Linked DNA regions of Homo sapiens: all the other regions are linked to region 3. The links are contacts of gene promoters, found by promoter capture Hi-C in blood cells and fetal thymus (Javierre and others, 2016). All regions are on one chromosome and are shown on one strand. Each heading gives the region's core, a stretch centred on a gene start or on the middle of the fragment in contact. The rest is flanking DNA. Distances are from core to core; before and after follow the strand shown. Region 1 holds the start of CALCOCO1 (calcium binding and coiled-coil domain 1). Region 2 overlaps HNRNPA1 (heterogeneous nuclear ribonucleoprotein A1). Region 3 holds the start of HOXC-AS2 (HOXC cluster antisense RNA 2).

What was found. Contacts are between HindIII fragments. The CHiCAGO score rates a contact against its expected background, and 5 or more counts as called.
Region 1: a contact is called between a fragment that was not itself captured here and the fragment with the promoter of HOXC-AS2 in region 3, in 1 of 17 cell types (total B cells). The highest score is 5.1, in total B cells.
Region 2: a contact is called between a fragment that was not itself captured here and the fragment with the promoter of HOXC-AS2 in region 3, in 2 of 17 cell types (total B cells and naive B cells). The highest score is 7.1, in total B cells.

What each region holds. Positions count from the first base shown.
Region 1 is chr12:53,723,817-53,727,625 of GRCh38, forward strand. It overlaps CALCOCO1 (calcium binding and coiled-coil domain 1), which reads right to left and starts at 3,636. Exons shown (of 15, transcript NM_020898.3): 1 at 3,588-3,636; 2 at 1,271-1,450; 3 at 829-931. The coding sequence starts at 1,426. LOC105369774 (a long non-coding RNA gene) reads left to right here and starts at 2,763. Exons shown (of 3, transcript XR_944973.3): 1 at 2,763-2,833. RefSeq lists enhancers at 1,212-2,411, 3,729-3,788. The HindIII fragment of the contact is 202 bases long and covers 1,883-2,084 here.
Region 2 is chr12:54,286,894-54,290,795 of GRCh38, forward strand. HNRNPA1 (heterogeneous nuclear ribonucleoprotein A1) reads left to right here. Exons shown (of 11, transcript NM_031157.4): 11 at 1-194. Among named protein-coding and RNA genes, the nearest start is that of HNRNPA1, 8.1 kb to the left of the region's middle. The HindIII fragment of the contact is 6,133 bases long and covers 1-3,902 here.
Region 3 is chr12:53,995,201-53,998,696 of GRCh38, forward strand. It overlaps HOXC-AS2 (HOXC cluster antisense RNA 2), which reads right to left and starts at 1,585. Exons shown (of 3, transcript NR_047505.1): 1 at 1,470-1,585; 2 at 633-709; 3 at 8-318. RefSeq lists an enhancer at 17-585. The HindIII fragment of the contact is 15,520 bases long and covers 1-3,496 here.

The DNA of each region.
Region 1 (3,809 bases), core at 734-3,233, 270 kb before region 3:
AATCCACTGTCCTTGGCCCCAGCCCCTTGCTCGGTGTTCCATATACTGTTTCTTCTCTTCTCCACCTCCCACAGGCCATACTCTTCTCCCTCCTTTCTGCCTGTCCCTCTCCTTCCTTTCTTTCCCAAACCCACTGCCCCTCTATCATAATCATAATAATGCTAGTTACCATGTAGTGAGTGCGTACCATGTACCAGACACTGTGGTAACACTTTTTATTTTATTTTATCTTGAGACAGAGTCTTGCTCCATCGCCCAGGCTGGAGTGCAGTGGCGCGATCTTGGCTTGTTGCAACCTCTGCCTCCCGGGTTCAAGAGATTCTCCTGCCTCAGCCTTGTGAGTAGCTGGGACTACAGGCATGCACCACCACGCCTGGCCTGCAGCTTTCATTTTAAATCCTCGTAATGTCCCTATAAGCCAGGCATCCCCTTTTACTGTTAAGATAACCGACACAGGGAGGTTATGTAATTTGCCCAAGGCCAAACAGCTTGTAAGTGTTAGAGGTGAGATTTGAACCCAGGTCTTTCCCTCTTCTCACCACATAATTCTACCTTTCCCTCTTCCTTACTCCCCCATTTTTCCTTCTTTGGGTAGGACAGGGGACTAGATGCCCTCTGAAGTTCCTTCTGTTTCTATGTCCCTGATTCTGCGATAATCCCGTGATTCTCTATCCGCTGAGCGCTGTTGGATATATTCTCATTATATTTATTTTCGTTTATTTTTCCTTGTCCTTTGTGCCTAACTTTTAATGTTTCTGAGCCCACTACCTTCTTTCAAACCTCCACTCCCTTGGCTCCTCTCTCCCAATTTTCCATCTTCCCTTGTACCTTGGAACTGGACACTGGTGTGAATGGGGGAACCATCAGTTGTACTTTCAGGCACGGAAGACCACACAAATGTGTGGTAATCCCGAACACAGGCAGCCTCCACCTGTGAAAGCCCAAGGTTGGAGAAAGGTATGGTCATGGAACTACCTTCTATGGATGGAAGAAAGGGCTGAGGGGTTGAATAAGGGGGGCAGGATGGAGCTACAGTGGCAACAATGACAAGAGAAAGGGAAAGTGGAGGGACACTAATGTGTCAGTAAAGAACAAGGCTAAGATGGAGAAAATATGTGCTTTGGTTATACAGGCGGCCTCTGTCATCTGTGACATCTTTCTCTCTTCTTCTCTATCAACCTGAGGTTGAGAATCCAAGAGCCCAATCATTCCCCTTATTCCAACCAACTCACAGCCCATAAACCTAAGCCAAAAGGGGTTCCAGAGATACCTTGAAGATGCCAATCCAGTCACTGGCACTGGGCATGGTGCCTGGGGGAAGGGTGTAGTGACATTCCACCTTGGTGTTGGGGATGTAGGTCCGGGCTACATTGAGAAAGTTGACTCCACCACGGGATGGTGCCCGGCTTAGTGGTGATTCTTCCATCCTGGCCTTGAGATATCTGTCCTCCTATGAAAGAAAGGGTTGATAGCCTAAAGTCTTTCCAGTCCACCTCCTTCCCCCCACAGCTCCAGCACCACACACTCACAGCCCCTGCCACTACACCTGGAGATAAGGCATACCTGGTTTCTAGTCCCTGAGGGTTACGGGACATTTTTGAGGTATCACTCTTAGTCTCTAGGACGTAGGTCTGGCCTTCCAAGTCCGTCCCCATCCTGTCTCACACTGTACCCGCTCTGGCTCATAGACCCTTCTGAGGGTTCAGACTTCTCTAATTTTGCTCCCAAAAGGACACTGACGGGGACAGAGCCTGGGATACTGCGACTTGGTCGACAGCCTCCATTTCTCCATCCCATCTCCCACACATCCTGGCTCTTGAATACAAAATCCAACTGAGGTGTGGGGCCCTCTCATTGAGAGAGGTGTCCTTACCTACTCCTAAGCTTGTTGACCCAGCTGTATCCAGGAATGAGTTATGACATCAGAAAGCAGCAACTAATCTCTGAAAGGAATGGTTGAGTTTTCAGAGCTAGAATATGGCTGGGGGTCGAGGGGAACTGAGCCCAAATCCTTAGGCTCCTGAGCTCTCAGCTCTTTTCATCTCTCTGAGCTGCCTACCCCCATGAATTCTAGGGAAGCAGAAAGCTTCTGCTGGCATCCAAGAGACAAAGGGAAGGGGAGGATATAAGGAAAGACAGGTTCTGTCCCTTGACTTATTATTCCAGGAAGTCAAGAATTCTGGAGGCGGCAACTTCAAGGGTGGAGTGAGGCGCTTAGCAGGAACGTGGTGGGGGTGGGGAGATGGAATGTGGGGGCCTGGAGCCAGGAAAGCCCCACCCCAGGGCAGGGAACAGACTAGAAAGTGGGAAGTAAGGGGCCCCAAGAAGTGGAAATGTATATTTAACGTTGAGGAAAGGGGAGATAGTTCAAAAAGAACCTAACATTCTTCTCTCCAGACTGTGCCTGCAGCAGGACTAGAAACCTACTGGTTTCACTTTAGTATTTCTCTCCTCATTTTCTCTCTGCTCCCCTCAGCCTCCATCCTTCCATCTGTTTGTATTGGTAGCTGGAGACACACTACAGGATGGGGTTGAGAGGAAGGGGTGTTCCAAGTTAGCTGGGGAGAGTTAATTGGAAAATATGAGGGTGGGGTGAGGACAGATAACAATAATAACGATCAAAAGAACTCCTCAGTCCAGGGCTGTGAGATGGCCCTCTTATTCATCACTCCTTTCCAGCCCACTAATCTATTTCCTGTGTCACTCACAGCTGACATGTCCAACCAGCCATTGTCACTAGTCATATGCACGCCCCCAAACATCACAAACCCACACCAGGCTGAAGTCCAGGGGACAGGAACTTTAAAAGAAAACAGAAACTCAGTGGATAAAGGTGAGCCAGCAACACAAAAAGGAGCAACTTCTGTCCCCCAAATAGGTAGAACAAAAAGTTTTTTTTAATGTTCATCTCCCTGAAAAATTCCTGGTTGAAACTAATCCATGTTTTCTCCAAATGCAATTCTTCCAGCTTTCTAAGGGTGGGGGTAAATTGTCCCCAAAGATATACCTGGAGAACCCTAAAATACACCCCACAAAGAAAATCCGTAACAGCTGTAAACGTTCTTCATGTCCGAAAGAAAGTTTTGGGCACCTAAGATGTAGGTGTGTAGCCTGATTCAGATGTTCACATGATGGGGCGGAGAGCGGGTGTCCCATCCCCTACTCTGTAGGGCTCTAGAGTTCCTTGACATTCTACACCTTGGAAGGTCCCCCTTCCTCCCCAGGGATTCAGCGTCGTAAAGGCCTTTGGATTTGCGTAGGGGAGAGAGGGAAGACGTGTAGGGGACACGTCTTGCCTGGGAGCGAATAAGCAGATTTCAGCTCCCTTGAAGGGATCAGCTTTATAGAGACGCATTGAGAAGAAGGAGAGGACGACGAGGGGGCGCCCCCCACCCCCAATCAGAGTCCCCTTGAAACCAAGAACTCCCCAAACAGCGGGGGTGGCTTCTCCAGTACGGAAAGGGTTACAACCCAAACGCTCCTGTATTCCCCTTCGACAGTTCCCTTACGTTATCCTTCCCCAAACTGGAAAGTGGGGTGACCCTCCCCTCCCATAAGATCGCCCCCAATTAGGCCAAGTTTCTTACCCAACAGACGGATCAGCTGTTCCCCTCACCTTTCACCAACAACAAAAACAGCACTCCGACTTCTGGAGGGGAGGGAGAAGAGTGGGCGCGAGGGCTTCTGGGGTTTGTGGTTCTTCTGCGCCCTTTTGCCGCTGCGTGCTCGGATCTAGGACTATACATCCCAGAAGGCTGCGCGCAAGGAGGGCGGGGAAGAGGGCGTCCGTGACGGCGGCCTCACCGCGG
Region 2 (3,902 bases), core at 117-2,616, 290 kb after region 3:
TGTGTAGTCATTCACCTCTGCTTATATGAATACTTTACAACCTCTTTTGCCTTTTGCAGGAACGTCCTTGTGAAGACCTTTATCTGAGCCACTGTACTTCGTTATCACTGCCATGCAGTTTACATGAGCTGTTCTGCAGCTCAAATTCCATTTTGTGAATGGGTTTTTTTTTTTAATAAACTGTATTTAACTTAGTTCTGCTTGTTTTGTCCTCCTTTGTGATATCTATGGTTAATAACATGTTGAAATTCAGGTTAGAGAGGATATGGTTGATTCTAATGTGAATTTCTATATTTAGATTCATCCCATTCAGCTTCATGGTTTAATGAAAATAGAAATGGGTTCTCACTACAGGAGTAATTCTTGGCTCACTATAAGTAAACTTTACTATTGATCCAATTGAGCATGTCCTTTTTCTAGCTCCCCTGGCAAGGGAAAATCAAGTTGTAGCACTGCCATTGAGCTCAGTATGTCTCTATTGGGACTTACGCTCACCATCTGTTGCAGAAGGACATAATGGATTTCATCTTTGGCAAACAAGTTGGGCTTATTGGCCAGCTGTCTCATACTTCAGTAGAATTCTCAAGCCAGGAGTAAGAAAGTGAACTGAATGAGAGGCAAGACTTAGCCTCTCAAAGATAGCCTAAAAATGTAAGGACTATTTTGGAAGCAATAATTGTACCCTCTAGCAAATGCTTAGGTTCTTGCGTGTGTGTGTGTGTGTGACGAAGTGTCCCTCTGTCACCCAGACTGGAGTGCAGTGACACTCTGCTCACTGCAACCTCTGCCTCCCAGGTTCAAGCAATTCTGCCTCAACCTCCCGTGTAGGTGGGACTAGAGGTGCCTGGCTAATTGTATTTTTAGTAGAGACACAGCGTTTCACCGTATTGCCCAGGCTGGTCTTGAACTCCTGGCCTTAGGTAATAAACGCCCACCTTGGCCTTCCAAAGTGCTGGGATTAGAGGTGTGAGCCACCGTGCCTGGCCACTAAACTGTTTCTGTTATTTTCAAGGAAAGTTTATCCAGCCTCAGTTTTGAGCCTAACAAAAGTGGAGGTAGGATTCTTGGGAAATTTTTGCCTTTTAACACCCATGCTGTTTTGAAACAACTGTATATGGGACTAAGTTCCATTAGCCTTTTGATACTTGGGGGAAGTAATGTCAGGGGTCTCAGTTTGTGACTTGGCATTTGCTAGAGGTTTTTATTGTAGACAATCAAATTTCCTTGAAGGGAAAGGAAAACTCCTAAGGATAGTTTCCTAAAAGCATTCCTATTGAAGAGAAACATTGTTTCAGTCCATGTACTTTGCTATATACTTTATTATAATACTGTGAAAAGTAAATTCCATTATTTTCTAAATGAGGAAATAGGCTGAAGATAAAATCCTGTCCCAAGTTCCTGCAACCACTGGATCATATAACTCAGATTGCTCTATTTTCAAACTATGTTCCACCTTGTTTAGGTCAGCACGCTGAACAAGTATGTGTGTGTATAAGACCTCACTAGTGATTTTCATGAGAGCAGGGGGATCTGACGTCTCTTAGGTAAACTAATTAAATTTCTGAACAGCTAGCCCAAGCCCCTGCCTTTGCAGCTTGAAATGTGGAAACAAGATGGCCGGGCGCGATGGCTCATGCTTGTAATCCCAACACTTTGGGAGGGCGAGGCGGGTGGATCACGATGTCAGGAGTGCCAGACCAGCCTGGCCAACATAGTGAAACCCCATCTCTACTAAAAATACAAAAATTGGCCAGGCGCGGTGGCTCATGCCTGTAATCCTACCTGGGAGGCCAAGGTGGGCGGGTTGCCAGCCTGGGCAACACGGTGAAACCCCGTCTCTGCTAAAAAAGTACAAAAAAATAGCCGGGCGTGGCAGCGGGCGCCTGTAGTCCCAGCTACTCAGGAGGGTGGGGCAGAAGAATTGCTTGAACCGGGGAGTCGGAGGTTGCAGTCAGCCGAGATCGCGCTACTGCTCTCCAGCCTGGGTGACAGAGCGAGACTCTGTCCCCCCTGCCCAAAAAAAATACAAACATTAGCGGGACATGGTGGCGCACGCCTATAATCGCAGCTACTCTGGAGGCTGAGTCAGGAGAATTACTTGAACCCAGGAGGCAAAGGTTGCAGTGAGCCGAGATCGTGCCACTACACTCTAGCCTGGGCGACAGAGCAAGACTCCGTCTCAAAAAAAAAAAAGAAAGAAATGTGGAAACATTGCCAGGTACAGTAGCTCAACACCTGTAATCCCAGCACTCTGGGAGGCCTAGGCGGGAGGGTCACTTGAGGTCAGGAGTTTGAAACCAGCCTGGCCAACATGGTGAAAAGCCCGTCTCTACTAAAAATGCCAAAATTAGCTGGGCATGGTGGCAGGTGCCTGTAATCCCAGCTACTTGGGAGGCTGAGGCAGGAGAATTGCTTGAACCTGGGAAGCGGAGGTTGCAGTGAGCCAAGACCCTACTGCTGCACTCCAGCCTGGGCGACAGAGCGAGAGACGCTGTCTCAAAAAAAAACAAAACAAAACAAAAAAAAACAATGTGGAAACATTGGATGCCTCATGCCTGTAATCCTAGCACTTTGGAAGGCCGAGGTGTGCAGATTGCTTGAGCCCAGGAGTTGGAGACCAGCCTGACCAACATGGTGAAACCCATCCCTACTAACAAATATTAGCCAGGCATGGTGGCATGCGCCTTTAGTCCTAGCTACTCAGGAGGCTAAGGTGGGCTGAGATCAGCCCACTGCACTCAAGCCTGGGCGACAGAGACTCCATCTCAAAAAAAAAAGGAAGTGCTTCAAGTTGTTTTTGTTCCCTAAACTTAGGCTAGAGACCACACTCCATATCTCCCTAATCACTGTGCTGCTTTTAGGTCTCAGTATCTGTGGTGTCCATTTTTGTTTGAGACAGTCTCGCTCTGTCGCCCAGGCTGGAGTACAGTAGCATGATCTTGGCTCACTGTAGCCTCGAACTCCCAGGCTCAAGCAATTCTCTCACCTCAGCTTCCAACATAGCTGGGACCACAGGCATATGCCACTGTACCCACCCACTAATTTTTTTTTTGTAGAAACAGGGTCTCCCTATATTGTCCAGGCTCGTCTCAAGCTCCTGGGCTCAAGCAGTCCTCCCACCTCAGCCTGCGGTGTCCAGATCAGAACTTGGATGTAAGGTTTTAATGTTGGAATGGAGCTAGTAAAATTGAATAAAAAGTAAATGTAAAATCTTCTGAAAAGGTAAGCTGTGTAATTCAGTGACTGGGAATACTGGAGACTATACAACTCCAAGCAAGGAGATTGTGTCCTGTCAGGGAGGTTTGACTGGACTTTAACTGATATGGGTAAGGAATCTGAAACTTAGTGAATTATATTCTGTTTCAAGAAGAAGCAAAATAGACTAATAAAAAATATCTAGGCTGCGCACAGTGGCTCACGCCTGTAATCCCAACACTTTGGGAGGCCGAGGCAGGCAGATCATTTGAGGTCAGGAGTTCGAAACTAGCCTGGCCAACATGGTGAAACCCATCTCTACTAAAAATACAAAACAATAGCCAGGCATGGTGGCGGGCGCCTGTAATCCCAGTTACTCAGGAGGCTGAGGCAGAGAAGGTGGAGGTTGAGGTTGCAATGAGCTGAGATCGCGCCACTGCACTCTAGCCTAGGCGACAGAGCGAGACTCTGTCTCAAAAAAAAAAAAAAAGCCAGGCGTGGTGGCTCAAGCCTGTAATCCCAGCACTTTGGGAGGCTGAGGCAGGCAGATCACCTGAGGTCGGGAGTTCAAAACCAGCTTGGCCAACATGGAGAAACCCCATCTCTACTAAAAATGCAAAATTAGCTGGGCATAGTGGTGGATGCCTGTAATCCCAGCTACTTGGGAGACTGAGGCAGGAGAATCACTTGAACCCGGGAGAAAGAGG
Region 3 (3,496 bases), core at 335-2,834:
AACGGCGGAATTTGCACTTTCATTCATTGGGTTATCTGCAACTGAGAGGGGCTGGTTAAGGCGTCCCCAAGTTGGAAGGGCGCTTTGCTTCTGTTTTCTGGATGCAGAGTCCTCTGACTCCCTCTGCCACGGGCTGAGTTTCCGGCTCCAGGTTCGCGTGTCGCCCTGAGGTTTGAGGCCAGACAGCTCGCAGTCGGGCAGGGAGGGCGGGGGAGAGACGAGCGGCTCTGGCCCCTTAATTGTACTTCGGGCTCGTATTGTCTCTCCTTTCGCCACCTCCGCTTCCTCAGTCTGGGCTCCAAAGTCACTGCAAATTTCCTTGCGACACATACATCACACAAAAGATCAGGTAACAAGGCGCTCAGGGCCACTGGGGCTCCGGGCAGGGCAGGGAGCGGCTCTAGCTCTGGGGCGGCTCCCCCTCCAGCCACTCCCAGGCTGGAAAACCAGACCGCGTTGGGGGAGCCGGAAATAGCCCCGCTTGCTGCGGAGCGTCAGGGCGGGGGCGCCGGCGGGAATGCAGGCCCGGCAGGCCGTGGCTTTGAGAGAGCCACGTTCACAGGCCCTGGGGATTTCACTCCTGCTGGGCCTCGGGACCTGACTCCTGGTGTGTAGGGATCCCAGATACCCACCTTGGGTGGGGGCAGGACGCGGGTTTCCTCGCGGCAGGCCAAGAGAACTCAGTTTCTGCTTCCAGCGCAGGCCTTAGCTAGGAGGAGTTGTGTGTGGGTGTGTTTTTCCCAACAAAGAGGGATCAGGAGAGAGAAGGGGGGAAAGTAGAGGGGAACCAGGGAGGGGGCGGGGAGGGGAAGAGGGCAGTGGAGAGGTGAAATGAGCCCATTTCAGGGGGAGAAGGAAAATGAAAGCAAATGGAGTACGGCCTTCTCCGCGCAGGGCGGGTGCTGACGAGCCGGGAGCGGGCTCCCTGCCTGCGGCAGCCGGGATGGCCCGCTGGGGACACCGGAGAAAGCCTGTTTTAAATTTAATCCGAACTTGACGGTGTGGATTGAACCGGAGGGAATTTAAATCACTAAAAGGAAGGCGCGGGGCAGGGGGAGGGGACGACTCTAACCTGTCTATCTTTCTGTCTGTCCTTCCCACGGTGCTAGTTTGGTTGTGGCCGCAGCTGCCCAGGTTTCAGGTGATGGAGTAAGGGTGCCCCTCCCCCTCAGGGGTCTCTCCTGTGCCCAGTGAAGTCTTTTGGGGGTGGGAGGGAACTCTAAGAACCAGAGTGAATGCACAGCTGCGAGCTAAAGCTGGGGTTTCCCCCTCCCCAACAAGAACTCCCAGTGGCCTCCAGTCCCTGGGTTTGCCCCAGCGGTGCTGAGGAAAATTGAAGGGAGTATGTGGGTGAGGGGAAGTCTGGAGTATGGCAGAAGATTCAGAAGGAGTAACTGAACCCCAGGAAGACAGACCTTCCTTCTTGGTGCCCCTATATCCTTTGTGCCCCGCCCCCCGCACCTACAAACCTGGATTTGAGGGAAATCTGCAGGTCCGCTTCAAAGCCCTGGTCTGCCACCCACACCCCTCCAAATGTGGAGAATGGGGGCTACAGGCCACATGCAGTTGTGGACCTGCGGAACCTCCGCCCAGTGGACTCCGGAACTCCCAGCCTCTTCTAGCCCCCCTCCCCAAGGCCGCCTCTCTCCGAAGGGCGCAGGGAAAATGAGGCATTGGCTGGGAAGGGGCTGTGGGCGAGGCCTGCTTCCTGATCCACAGCCGTGCCTGCCTCTGAGTGGGAAGAGTTCGGAGGTCATAGTCCCAGAAAATAAAATAAAATAAAGGAAAGCGACAATCTCCTTGGTTTCACAGGGGATTTCACGGCAGCAGGGATCCCGCCGGTGAGCCTCACTGCCCGCTGCTGCCGCCTCCGCAGAGTGGGCAGGCAGGGTGCGCAGGCAGCTCAAGAGTTGAAAAGAAGGCGGTGTTCAAAGGGGGTAGGAGAGAAGGGGGCATCTCTTTACGGCCCCAATGTCTATTTGAGGAACTCTCCCAAATAGCAGAGGCCCATAGGGGAGGCTCCTTAGGGACTCTTTCCTCCAGGAAAGCTGAGGCTGGGGCAGCTGGCCTTGTCGCTTGGAGAAGACGCAAAGGAAGAGCAGGGGTGAAACCTCTTTCCTCTTCTGTTTCTTCGCTCCTTGAATAGAGCAGGGCTCAGCCCCCAGCTGCCTAAGCGGCTGTCTGGACCAATATGGGGTTCTATATCCCTGAGGCCTAGAGTACCCATCCGAGCAAGTCTCCTGGGAGGGGCAGGAGAGGAGCCCTCTTCCGCCTTTGTGTCCAGACAGAAGTGGCCGCCGCGCCCGGAGCCGGTCCCGCGGCAAAGGCCCGGCAAGCCAGCGGGCTGCACAATGCCACGGCTGCTCCGCCAGCTCGCCCCTGCCCCGTCCTGCCTGCCTACGGCCGCCCTTCCTCCGCCTCCCTCTCTGCACGCCTGCCTTTCCCGGCTCTCCTATCTCTTTTCATCTTGCCTTCCTTCTTTTAATTCTCCCCCTTTTTTCCCTTTATTCTAATGCTCCGCTTCCTTCTTTCCTCTCTTGGGCCTGACTCCATGTTTCAGTTGGTCTGTCCCAGGCTGTCTCGGGTTCAGTCTCTCTCAGGCTCTGTCCCCTGATGTCCTCTTGGTCTCAGTCTGGCCCCGGGCCCCGCTGAGGGCTAAACGTCTCTGCTCATCGCTGCCAGCAGCCGCCCAAGTGCCGGGCCCGGTCCTCAGCCGCCCTGGGCTGGGGGAGGTGCTGGCTGTACTGGGGATTTGGAGAAAGCCTCGGCAGGGGGACTGGAACCTCCTGTCTTTTCCTTGAACTAGTGAGGGAGATTTTTTGATTGACAGCTAACCCAACTCCATCAAGGCCAAAGAGATATTCTGTTTCTTGTTGTAAGTTGGGCTTCCCAGCTCAGTCCAGCTCAAGGGAGGGGAAGACAGTGGCGCCAAGGAGCTGAACCCCCAAGTCGCCTCTCCCCAACCAAACACATCCCTCATCCTCCCCCATGAGTTGAAATCCCAGCCCCGTTAAGCCGCCCCCTTAGACCAAAAAGGAAAAGGAAAGAGCCAGAGAGGGGGAGGAGCAGAGACTTGGGAGGGGGCCTATGGAGCTGGGGTCGGTGCTGCCAGCTGCAGCTGTCTCCCCCTAACTTTCCTCCCCCCGGAACACACATACTATACACACTCTCCCCAGCCCCTCTCCACCCCAGAGGAGAAAGATCCATAGAGACGCAGGAGAAAACTAGCCCCCGCCCCTACCCCTGGCGTTTGGTCCCCTCCTGGGGACAGGAGAGGGAAAGAAGGGCAGGCGTGGCCGGGTCTGGGAAGACTCCTACCCTGCTGCCTCCAGAGCCTGCATCTCAACCTCAGCTCCTGTCTATTTTCCCTGGCCACAGACTGGGACTCTTCCTTTCTGACCCTGAAATTGCACCCCTCCTTTAAATTCACTCTACCCTGCCTAAGTGCACCATATTTCTGGGGGTTTCACCTGTCCCTTTCTCCCCACCCCCCAGC